Linked DNA regions of Homo sapiens: region 1 is linked to region 2. The links are contacts of gene promoters, found by promoter capture Hi-C in blood cells and fetal thymus (Javierre and others, 2016). All regions are on one chromosome and are shown on one strand. The core of a region is centred on a gene start or on the middle of the fragment in contact, and the rest is flanking DNA. Distances in the headings are between cores, read along the strand shown.

The links. Contacts are between HindIII fragments. The CHiCAGO score rates a contact against its expected background, and 5 or more counts as called.
Region 1: a fragment that was not itself captured here is called in contact with the fragment with the promoter of USP50 in region 2 in 3 of 17 cell types (naive CD4 T cells, activated CD4 T cells and total CD8 T cells); the score reaches 6.3 in naive CD4 T cells.

Annotation. Positions count from the first base shown.
Region 1 is chr15:50,935,257-50,941,458 of GRCh38, reverse strand. AP4E1 (adaptor related protein complex 4 subunit epsilon 1) reads right to left here. Exons shown (of 21, transcript NM_007347.5): 9 at 1-17. Among named protein-coding and RNA genes, the nearest start is that of AP4E1, 30 kb to the right of the region's middle. The HindIII fragment of the contact is 353 bases long and covers 3,909-4,261 here.
Region 2 is chr15:50,544,712-50,551,775 of GRCh38, reverse strand. It overlaps USP50 (ubiquitin specific peptidase 50), which reads left to right and starts at 5,110. Exons shown (of 7, transcript NM_203494.5): 1 at 5,110-5,303; 2 at 6,995-7,064. The coding sequence starts at 5,251. RefSeq lists an enhancer at 135-649. The HindIII fragment of the contact is 3,769 bases long and covers 3,163-6,931 here.

The DNA.
Region 1 (6,202 bases), core at 2,836-5,335, 390 kb before region 2:
ACATTCAAACAAAATAGCTAGAAAAAGAAACATAAAAATGGCAGGTATCATGGTAAGGTATAACAAAACAATGTATTTGTGTAGAACTTGTAATAAAACTAATTGGAAAGTCCATTTTAGTCAGAAATCTTATTTATGGACTTTTCACAGAAACAAACGCTACTACTTTCAGGCTTACCCAGTTACTAGGATTAGGTTACCACAATACAATGTTCAAAAAATTATATTTACTGGTAATAATTATGCATTTATTAATGGAACAAGTATTTACTGAACACCTCCCATGTGCCAGGCATGGTTTCAGTACTATGAATATAGCAGTGAACAAAACAGATGGAAAAAAACATCCTGCCCTCAAGGAGTTCACATTCTAATGGAAACATCAATAACAGATTCATTATTCCTATATAAAAAGATATTTCCCACGTTCCTTTAATGCTTTAAAATGGTTTATTCTCAAATAGTTTCGACCATTTACGTGCCAAAATTGCGTATGTAGTTTATTTCAACATAATCATTTTATAGGATGATCCAGTATTTATTTCAAAGATACAGTCCCTACTCATAAATCTTCAAACTATTCTTTAAAATAACCTCAAAGCACATAAAATAATCTACTGGACATCTTGATAGCATTCAAATTTTATTTTCTGATACATTCGAAAGTCTCATCACTATGACAGATGATCAAAGTGAATGATCAAAATGGACACTAAAGTTTTTTTCAAATTATTTGAAAAAGCATGAGTCATGCGGTTGGAGCTTTGCCATGATAAAGAAAAATCACTGAAAGGACATTAAGTCTTATGTGTTCTATGGAATCATAGTATCAGAAGTGTGACACAGTGAAGGTACAGAATCAACACTTAAAAACTGTTCTAGTACAAGTTGAAGTATATCAAGTGTCCTGATACAATCACTCCTTCTCTATTTCCAAAAGCTTAAAATATAACCCGACATTCTCTTTATGTACAAAATATATTCTGAATATTCAGCTAGCTATGTTTTACACTATGTTGCCTATCGATTAATGCACAAATAAATTTTGTGGAAAAAACTTCTATAAACCTCTGTCTTTTTCTCAAATTTACAAGGAAAGAAAAGACAAAAAAAAATTTTAAACCTCTTCTATAACAGAGACAGAAAAAAAATCAGATATATTAATTTTTCTTTAAGAAAGGAACTGACTTTAAATGAAAACTACAGAGTAAGTTGGCTGAACCTAAAGAGACTTTGTATATTCAGATGCTATGCTATAAAATGTCTTTACTCTGTGCTGTGAAAAAAGTTCGCTTTATGATTCATGAACTAGACAAACTAAACAAAGAGAACCTTAGTCAATTGACTAATAAGATAAGGCAGGAATGGAGAAACTGCCACTAAATCCAGCCTTCAGCCTATTTTTAAAATGCCACTAAATCCAGCCTTCAGCCTATTTTTATAGGCCTGTGAACTAAAGAAAGATTTTTACATTTTTAAAAGGCTGTAAAAAACAAAACAAAAAGCAAAGGAGAATATGCGACAGAAACCTCCATGACCTGCAAAGCCTAAAATATTTACTATCTGGCCCTCTTTTCAGAAAAAGTTTGCTGAACTGTGAACTACCATGACAGTCCTAAGATTTCAAATGATGATATTCCATTTTCCAACATAACTGACACATTTTTCATTACGGCTTCCTACCATTAAGAACTCTCTTGCTATTAAATTGTTTTACTAACAAAAGCCTGCCATTACCCATCCAAAATTTAAACGTTTATATTCAGATGCTCATAAAGTTTCTGGGGTGCCAACATGGGAAAAAAAATAATAGTTCAAAAACAGCACTTATTTTTAGTTTCCTTAGGCATAATTGAGCTGAAAATGAATTAAATTGATTTTTAAATTATTTTCTCACCCAGAGCTAAGTCATTTTATTCTCCAACTCTACAAATATCTAAGTATAAGTTCATAATTGAAAGAGCAGCCACTCTGCTGTCTCCTCTCTGTGGTGGTGAAGTAAAATACAACTGAGAATTTCTTTTTTTTTTTTTGAGATGCAGTCTGCAACCTCCACCCCCCAGGTTCAAGTGATTCTCCTGCCTTGGCCTCCCAAGTAGCTGGCAGTACAAGCGTGCACCATCATGGCCAGCTAATTTTTGTATTTTTAGTAGAGACAGGGTTTCACCATGTTGGCCAGGCTGGTTTTGAACTCCTAACCTCAAGTGATCTGCCCAACTCAGCCTCCCAAAGTGCTGGGATTACAGGCATGAGCCACCTTGCCCGGCCACAACTGAGGGTTTCTAAACTTAAAAATACAACATGGAACTTGGTTACTCTTCAGTACTCTTGGTTACTCTCTTGGTACTAATTAAAATGCTATAAAGCATAAATTACTAAATTAAAAATTAATAATGTTCCACCATTTATGACACTGCAGTTTCATCATAGATATTTTGGGTTGGATTATGTATGCTCAAACAAAATGTGAAGTTCTTCTGACACCTTATCCCTCAGAATAGAGTTTACTCTCACTTTAATTAAGTTAAATAAGTATCTACTGACATTATTCTGGCAGGAGAGAGGAGGTATCACCCAATGGGAATGGAATCCAGGCTCTCTACTCTGTCTCCTTTGATACCTGGGGATGGAGAGGCTCCTGGTTATTGTTGGAGGGAGTATCAACTGATTCTACCCTGCCTGGGAGAGAGAGGGGTACCTCATTACTGCTTCCTTTGTGGCCTCCAGTGACACTATGAGGGAGTGGCCTCATTATCGCTGATCAGGAGTGGAAGTTCTGACTGTCCACCAGGCTTTCTCTAACACCCACGCCTCCGAACCCTGGCCACAAAGAGGGGAAAATTACCTCTTTACTCCCTACTTCCAGATGGGAAAAATCCAGACTTCCCAAGTCACCTCTGACAGCGTAAGGAAGGGGCCTTCCTTATCACCTGGCATCAATGAAATTCCAGCTGTCTCTTGGGCTTCTGTCACCACTCTAGTGGGGGGTTAGGGAGGGTGTGTTGGGGCATGTCATTATACCTGGTGATGATGGAAATCTTGGCTTTTTCCTCAGCCTTTGCTGGAGGGGATGGGTCCACAGTTTTTTCCTATGCTTGGAAGGAATAGAGGGGTTATCATCTAAAAGTTTTCTACCTTGCTAATTTCCCTTTTCTTCTTGGTCCTTTGGTGAGAGAGGGCAGGCTTTTCTGGGGGTGTTTTTGTCTGCGTCTGTTGGCATTTCCAGACTGCTGGCTCTTCAGTACCCAGTCTGGGGTACCCGAGGCAAAAAGAAAACCCAGGGTACACACCACCGTGTCTGTTTCTTTCCTTGTGTCCTGAGGTCTCTAACCAGCCTGACTTGTTCTCCACCTTCCTGAGTCTTATGTTTCTTATACATAGTATCCAAGGGTTTTAGGTGAAATTAGTGAGAAAAAAAACGGAAAAGTACTTCTATCTACCTACTTTTGATGGCTTTTGTCCCTTGTACTCCATTTTATATAATTTTCTCAATTTACTAATTTACTAAAAATGATATTCTCATGTTATCAGTACCTTATCCAAAAACCTTCCATACCTCCGGATTTACAAATCCAAACTCATTTGGCTGTTGTGACAGGTCCTCCACAATACCGCCCTTCCACTGCTCCCCACCATAAATTATCCTTTCAGACTGGTGAGACATTGTCTCTGAAACTGTTTTTAAATAGCCCCATGTCTACACCTTCTCTCATGTTCCCTCCACCTAAAAGCCCCTTCAATCTCCCTTCTGCCTATCTAAATCTTATCTACCTTTCAGGGTCCTATCACATCAGTAAATCCCTATCTGTGCCCTCAGGCCCTTAATGATCTCTACTTCCTCGGAACTCCTACAATACTTATTTCCCTGAACCATCCCTTCACATTCTGCCTTACACTGGTATTAAGCTTTCATGAACAAGTTATCTTTCCACTATATTGTGAATTTCTTAAAGACAAAGGTCATATATTATACTTCTTCATATCCTATACACCACTTTATACAATGCCTGGCACATAGCAGATATTCAATAGATGTCTTTAATGTAATTTATTTCTTGATTAGACACTAAATTGTAATAATAGAGCTTCCATAAAAATAAAATATAGAAAGTACTAATACTGAAACCCACTTAGATAACTGATAAAGTAAATAACTTCTTCTTCCTTTAATTCAATTAAAGCATATTACTCATTAACACAGTACCAGCTACTGAGATATGCTGGTTAATAAGAGAGACACAGTCCCTGCCCTTATGAAGCTTACAATTAAAATTAACATTCTTAAGCAGTAAAATACCTATATCAGGATTGCTAGCAAATACTCTACCACTGATATAATCAATGTAAGTTATAAGCTCTATCAATACAGATATAGAGAAAAGCATAACAATGAAAAGCTAAACAAAGGAAATGAAACAACAGGAACTATAAGGTTTCTGTAGCAAGGTGAAACACTGGACCAAGAGCCTGCAAAGAAAGAAACTGTTGGTGTTGGTTCAAGCAATCATTTTTTTTTTTTGAGACAGAGTCTTGCTATGTAGCAAAGGCTAGAGTGCAGTGGCATGATCTTGGCTCACTGTAACCTCTGCCTCCCAGGTCCCGGTTCAAGCAATTCTCCTGCATCAGCCTCCCGAGTAGCTGGGATTACAGGAACACGCCACCATGCCCAGCTAATATTTGTATTTTTAGTAGAGACAGGGTTTCACCATATTGGCCAGGTTGGTCTTGAACTCCCGACCTTGTGATCCGCCCACCTCGGCCTCCCAAAGTGCTGGGATCACAGGCGTGAGCCACCATGCCTGGCCAAGCAATCTTAATAAAAGGGTCATTCTGGAAAATATTAAAAAATATTTCCTCAGGTATACAGTATTCTCCAAATCAAAAGGAACGGGTAACAGTGGTTATCCCCAGGAAAGGGAACTGGGTGGTGGGTGATAAGGGTGGAAAGGACACTTACTGTTCATTGTATACCCTTTTGTACCTTTTGAATTTTGACCCATGTGCATATATTACCTATTCAAAAAAATAAAAAAATTAAAGCTGAAATGTCAATTATTAAAATAAAATAAAAAAAACTTTCTGCAAGGGAAAAAAAAAAAGCAGATTTTTAACTGAATTTTAAGCAGAATTTCCCGAAAGACTTTCAAACCCTTATCCTGGACACTGGTTACATCGCAAACAAAAAACTTTAAATTACTTTAACTTACTGGAAAAATTCTGACACTTTTCTAGATCTTCTCAGAAAATCACCTGCTTCAATAAGGGTCATCCACATCTGTGACCCCTTATTCCTGCATAGCAGGAACCTATATAATATCAACTGTTTATTACACTATATACTCATAAGGACAAGGCCTGTGTCTACCTTATTCTTCCCTTTACTTTCCACACTTAGCATGGAGAGATACATAAGTCAATCAACTCTTTCCTCAATCCGCACCTAGTTTAAAACACAATCAAGTTTTTGTTTCACAGGCACTCTATAAATGCTGGCTGAACAAATTAATAAAGCATCCTTATTACCTTAATTACCATTCATACATGCAAAACAAAAATCTATCCTTCAAAGTTTACCACCCCAATTCACTACCATGTGCATTATTTTTCTTGTATTAGTCTCATACACACAATCCTTTTTCCTTATTTGGACTGCATCTTTGTCAGGCACTTTTTATTTCAGTTAAACTAGTTCAATTTCTGTCCTCTGGTCTAACCTACATTTCTACAACCATTGTTCTTAAAGGTCCGCAGGTTATCCTTGTCTCAAAGAAAAAGTAATGCTCTTCATTTCCTACTTCATGATATTTTACCAGATTAAGAAATGACTTCTCATTTGAGTTACATCTCTCAGTGCCTCTTCTACTGTTGTCCTCCAGAGCATGCAAAATTCAAACTGTTCTACCTTTTAAATAGCTCCAAATATCTCAATTTCCTCACTGAGCTTTCTCAGGCTAATCAAAAAGAACAGCTCCTCCCGTTGGCTGTTAAAATTGGAAGTTTTTTTGGCTACTTTCTCAGTTTTCTACCCCCTTCCCTCAACTTACTCTTGTCTCCTATTACTAATTTTTAAATTGCATGTAACAATTTATTGTCTCTTCACAAAATAGTATACTATTATTCCACGTCTATATATTCCTGCCTATATCCTATTCATCCTTCAGATGTCTTCTTAAATATTTCTTTCTCAGGAAAACCTTCTTTA
Region 2 (7,064 bases), core at 3,861-6,360:
TCAAATAAGGAAATACATTGAGGACAATGGGAAGTGCCTCTCTGTTGGAGATGGGGTTGTAAATATGTAAAAGGGAGGAAACTAGAATAAATCCTGAAATGTAGGTTTGGAATTGGAATTACTGGCATGAATTCATGGTTCCCAAAATATCAAGATGTATTCAGTATGGTAGTAATACTGAAAAAAAAATGTAGAGAGATATACCTATGGATGTGGATGTATGTATGCATAGAGGACCTGGAAGCAGCAACGCTGTAATAACATGAGTATACCCAGCTCCCAGATCTTGGTTTCTAAATACCATTCTTCACTAAAAGGAACCAGGGCTCGGAGAAACACCTGACTTCAGGATTGGGGCAGGAATGGTACTCTAGAAGATCTTGCTGTGCCAAACAAAGGAAGTGCTCAAAGAACAATAAGGACATGTCAAATGGATACAGAAGACATCTTGAAGGGCTTCCTGCAGGCTAATCTTGAGACCATTTGAACATCTAAAATAAATCATGGCCAGGTGCGGTGGCTCACACCTATAATCCCAGCACTTTAAGAGGGCAAAGTGGTTGAGCTTGAGACCAAGAGCTCAAGACCAGCCGGGGCAACATAGTGAAACCCCCGTCTCTACAACAAAATTTAAAAATAGCTGGGCTTCGTGGCATGTGATGTAGTCCCAACTACTCAGGAGGCTGAGGCAGAAGGATTGCTTGATCCCAAGAAATTGAGGCTGCAGTGAGCCGAGATCATGCCATTGCACTCCAGTGAGCAACAAAGCGAGACCCTGTCTCAAAAAACACACACACAAAAAAACATGAAAATATCAGATGCGCACCCATAAAGGATGAGTTCATGTCCTTTGCAGGGACATGGATGAAGCTGGAAACCATCATTCTCAGCAAACAGAAGAACAGAAAACCAAATACCACATGTTCTCACTCATAAGCAGGAGTTGAACAATGAGAACACATGGACACAGGGAGGAGAACATCACACACCGGGGCCTGTCAGGGAGTGGGGAGCTAGAGGAAGGATAGCATGGGTGCAGCAAACCACCATGGCACACATATACCTATGTAACCTGCACGTTCTGCACATGTATCCCAGAACTTAAAGTATAATTTAAAAATAAATAAATAAAATATCAGATGTAATCCATTGAACAAAACGGGAATTTGTGAGTCCATGCTGATTAAAATAAAAGAATAAATGGAGACAGCCAGGTGCGGTGGCTCACGCCTGTAATCCCAACACTTTGGGAGGCCAAGGTGGATTGCTTCGAGCTCAGGAGTTCAAGACCAGCGTGGGCAACGTGGCAAAACCCTGTCTCTACAAAAATTACAAAAATTATCCAGGCATTGGTGGCGTGCACCTGTAGTCCCAGCTACACAGGAGGCTGAAGCTGGAGAATCGCTTAAGCCTGGGAAGTGGAGGTTGCAGGAAGCTGAGATTGTGCCACTGCACTCCAACCTGGGGGACAGTGAGACCCTGTCACAAAAAAAAAAAAAAGAAATGGAGAAACTTCTCTTTATAGTCGAGTACCAACAGATGAATGTAGTCAGAATAATGATATTAGAAAATCACCACTTGGCAATCACCATAGCAAAAATCCAGCCAAGAAACATCAATTACTAAAACTAATGTATGAAAGTTTGATGAGGAACAGACCATTTACACAGTCTCAAAGTCCTCCCTGCAAAATGCTTCCTGATGATTACAAAAGGAAAAACTACATTGGAGAAACCTGGGAGACCCTACCTCATTCAAGTTATCACAGTTAATCACAGTTCACATAACCAGTGCTGGGACAAATCAAAATTGTATAACATTTAATACAATGCAATAAGAATATAGCTTCACTTCTGTGATATTCTTCATAAAAATGCATAATGTGAATCTAATGAGGAAACATCAGAGAACATAGTTCCCCTAATGTTCTTTTATGGCAATTTTTTTTTTCTGATCTGGGATTCAGTCCGGATAGATGTAGCTCCTGAATAGAAATTAAGGGATATTCTTCACAATAATTGGTCAGTAATCTTCAAAAGTCAAGTTCATGAAAATCAAGGAAATACATAGAACCGTTTCAGGTTGAAGGAGCCTAAAAGGGACATGAAAACTAAATGCAATGTGAGATCCCAGCTAAACTATATCTGGTTTTCCTTTTTGAGTTTTGTTTTGTTTTGTTTTGAGACAGTCTTGTTCTATTGCCCAGGCTAGAGGGCAGTGGCATGATCTTGACTCACTGCAATTTCCGCCTCCCAGGTTCAAGGGATTCTCGTGCCTCAGATTCCAGAGTAGCTAGGATTACAGGCCCGTGCCACCATGCCCAGCTATTCTTTTTGTATTTTTAGTAGAGACAGGGTTTCGCCATGTTGGCCAGGCTGGTCTCTAACTCCTGGCCTCAAGTGATCTACCCGCCTCAGCCTCCCAAAACGCTGGGATTGCAAGTGTAAGCCACCACTCCTGGCTTTTGGGGTTCTTTTTGAGACAGGGTCTCTGTCACCCAGGCTGGAGTGCAATGGCACAATCACAGCTCACTGCAAGCATGACGTCCTGGGCTCAAGTGATCCTTCCACCTTGGCTTCCTGAGTAGCTGGAACTACAGTCATACACCACCATGCCCGGCTAATTATTATTATTATTTTTTTTGGTAGACGGAGGGTGGAGAGTGGGGTGGGGGGGAATGGGGGTGGGGGTGGGGGATATTCTCACTGTGTTGCCCAAACTGGTCTTGAATTCCTGGACTCAAGCGATTCTCCTACCTCGGCCTCCCCAAGTGCTGGGATTACAGGCATGAGCCACCACACCCAGCCCCATGTCTGGTTTTAAACTAAGCTTAGTAGTTTGTTATAGAGCACAGAATATTAACACATAGATAATCTAACTCATGAACATAGATACAAAACCCTTGAACAAAAAGATTAACAACTAGAACCCAACAATTCACGAAAATAATAACTACAGCTCAAACAAAATATACCTGAGGAATAGAAGATTAATATGTGACCATCATTGATAATGAACAACAATAACAGAATAAGAAAGAAAATCTCATGATTACCTCAATAAATACAGAGAAATCTGGTCATACTCACTATCCATTCATGATTACAACTCTTCAATACTATGTCTGCAAACATCATACTTAATGGTGAATTATCCAAAGCTTTCTCTCTGAGTTAAGCAATTAGCTATCTCCACTTCTATTCACTATTTTACTATGTTCACAATTTTTCACTATTTTCACTATTTTACTGGCAGTCCTCACTAGTAAAGAAGAAGTAAGACTCAGAAAAAAATTAAACTGATTTTGTTGCAGACAACTTGAATGTGTTTATAAAAAATCCAAAGAACCTATGTAAAAATTAGACTTAAGTAAGTCAAGTTAGGCCATACTCAGGGGCTCACATCTGTAATCCTAGCACTTTGGGAGGGTGAGGTGGGAGGATTGCTTGAGCCCATGAGTTCGAGACCAGCCTGGGCAACATAGCGAGACCCTGTCTCTATTTAAATAAAAATTAAAAAATTAAAGAGTAAGTCAGGTTAGAAAGGTTCCTGGATAGACAACCAACATATGACAAATAATTGTATTTTTACCTACCAGCATCAAACACAAAATGAAACTTTTAAAAGACCCTATTGATTAGGAGAAAATGAAGGACTTGGGAGAGCCTCACTGACAAATAGAGCAAGTTTACAGGATTTAAGTCCTGCAGAACCACCACTGAGGTGACTTGGAGAGATACCTCTGTAAATACATCGCAAATATCAAATACCTGCAAGAGAGGACAGCTCTACTTGCCAGGATTCCTTATCCAGGTGTCAAAGAATGAATATTCTAAATATCTTCGTGTAGCCTGAGCATATATGTGGGTTTTTTTTAACCATTTAGACATAAGTTGGGGTGCATACTATGGATTCCTCAACACCTTGCTTTTTTTGACTTACCAGTCATATATCTGGAGAGAAATCCATTTTAGCAAAAAATATGTGTAATATATTCTTTCTTTTTAATTTTTTTTTTCTTTTTTTGAGACCGAGTCTTCGCTTTGTTGCCCAGGCTGGAGTGCAGTGGCGCGATCTCGGCTCACGGCAAGCTCCGCCTCCCGGGTTCACGTCATTCTTCTGCCTCAGTTTCCCGAGTAGCTGGGACTACAGGCGCCCGCCACCACGCCCAGTTAATTGTATTTTTAGTAGAGATGGGGTTTCACCGTGTTAGCCAGGATGGTCTCTGTCTCCTGACCTCGTGATCCTCCCGCCTCAGCCTCCCAAAGTGCTGGGATTACAGGCGTGAGCCGATGCGCCCGGCCTCTTTTTAATTTTTTAAACTTGCAGAAGAGTTGCAAGAATAGTGCTCTTTAGTGGGCCTTCACTCGGAATCACCAACTGCTGGCGTGTGGGTGCACTGGCTTTATAGTATGTGCTTTATCAGTCCCCTTCCTTCCTGTCCTCCTGTCCCTGTGTGCTTCCTGAACCGTTTGAAAATAGGTTGCATATATCATGCCCCTGTGCCCCGAAAAACTTCAGTGTGTATTTTCTAAGAACAAGGGCATCCCCTTGCATAAACACAGTACAATCTTATCAAATTCAGAAGATTCAACATTAATAGAAAAAACTATCTGCATATTATCCATATTCAAATTTCATCAATCGTTCCCATAATGTTCTTTTATGGCAATTTTTTTTTTCTGATCCGGTATTCAGTCCGGATAGATCTAGCTCCTGAATAGAAGTGGAAATCCTCGCTCCCCGGGGTGAGGAAATTCCCTCAGGGCTCCTAGGTGTGGTGTAGTCGCTGGGAAGGGGGAATGAGTGCCCAGAGCAGGCAGGGTTGCCGTAGTGTCCACTAACTCAGTGGCGGTAAATTTTTGTGCACATGTTAAGTGTGTGTGTGTGTATGTGTAATATATATATACACAAGAGAAACTGAGTGATGGAAGAAGGAAGAGAGGTTATATGTGTAGTTCATTCTCTGGAGCCTAATCTTTCTAAAACATTTCAGACAACCCAGTAACAGTGTCTCATGGCAACATGATAGAATCTTGAAGGTGAATGGAAAGGATTATGATGTACGGAAAATCCAAGTTGGAGTGGTGCCTGATACAGGTGAAAATCAGTTCGCAGCTACTGGAAGAGAGAGGAGCATATCAATTGTTTAAAACAAAAAGCCAGCGTTAACAGGCTCAGAGAAATGAAGTTGAAAGGAATAGATGTAGCTCCTGAATAGAAGCAAAAGTCCAACGTGGTTCCATTAAAATGACTTCTCAGCCGTCTCTCCCTGCAGATGACTTCGATATCTACCACGTCCTGTGAGCCTTGATCTACTACAGCTTTCTAGATTAGCCCAGTGGTGGGAAAGTCAAGCTCAGAGGAGTCAGGGGACACACACTGCATTCAGGAGGGTTCTCCCAGGTGTGACCCATGGAAGGTCCCCGGAAAGGAAGGAAGATTGTACCTAATATCTTGGCAATAAATACATGTCCTTCCTAAAGGGTGACAGTCTAGGACCTCCTGTGGTATCAGTGAGTAAAAGTGAAAATGACCATGCTTATAACAGTGAACACTTTTCAAACTGGCATAACTGTACTTAAAAGTATGTATGAGGTAAGGTCACTGTCTCATGGAGCCCCAACTTTAGATACAATATATGGAAAGAAAAATCCGAGAGGACATAGATACCAGGCTGCCTGGCACAATACAAAAAATTGTAAGAGGAAGCTCTGTGCAGGGAGAGGAGGTCCCGTTTGGAACCCTCAGTGTTCTCTCTGTGCAGGCAGGTCTGGGCAATTCACATGAACACTCTAATCCTGTAGCTTACTGGGAAGGACATCCTAGATCAATCACTTAAAAAAATTTTTCAGTTGTCATTTAGACGAACCTGTGTCAAGTAGCTTGCATGATACCTGCATAATCCTCACAACCATCCTATCAGGCAGATGATATTATTCCTATTTTATAGATGAGAAACGGACATAGAATCCCAGATCCTATAATTAATAAACGGCATAGTTGGGATTTAAACTAAGATCTATATTTTTACAAAGTCTGTGCTCTTTCTCCTCTCCGTGTATATGTGTGTGTGTGTGTTTATATGTATATAGCTATATACATACACATATACACATATGTGTGCTCTTAAGATATATATATTCATGCTCTTAATGTGCATATATTATGCCTTCAATATATATGCCATACATACATATATATACAAATATATACATATATATCACATATATAGAGACAATCTTAATATATATAGACAATCTTAATATATGTAAATCCAAATATCTTAATGGATAGGTATGTTGGGAGAGAGGGAGGGAGGTAAACAGATAGGTGGATATTCCTTTTTTTACATACCACCACACACCCCATGAGTAAATGACTACATCATTTAAACCTGACATCTCATCTGTAAAATGGGATGTAAAAATAATCGTTCCTGCCTTACACAATTGTTGAAAGATTTAATGGGAAAATGCATGTTAAGTACTTAAATAGTGCCAGGCTCACTACCTGATAGCTATTGTTTTATTAACTATTAATAATAATAATAATAATTTAATTACTTGCCCAGCAAGTTGTCAGTTGTCTTGCTTTAGTTTTAGAAGGAAATTTTTATCTGTCTTATTTGGCTTCAGGTACTTGTTCACAGTTCTGGTCTAAGTTATGTAATTTTGTTTTTAATTTAATTTATTTATGTAATAGAGACAAGATCTCACTATGTTACCCTGGCTGGTCTCAAACTCCTGGCCTCAAGCAATCCTCCCACCTCGGCCTCCCAAAGGGCTGGGATTACAGGTGTGAGCCACTATGCTCTGCCATAATACAATTTTAGACTCCAAGTTCCAATACTTCCTGTCCTTGGTAGGGAATGTGTTTGGAGGAAGTCTTATTAAGAACTCTTCTTTATTTCATAATATTAAGAGAAGCTTATTGTCATTTGTACATATTTTGTTCTCTCAAAACCCTTTCTTCCCATGTGGCACCAACACAGTGCAGAGTGCACAGATTACTATGATACCCTTCCAGTTAAGGAGGCTGATGGGAACCAGCCCCATTTTCAG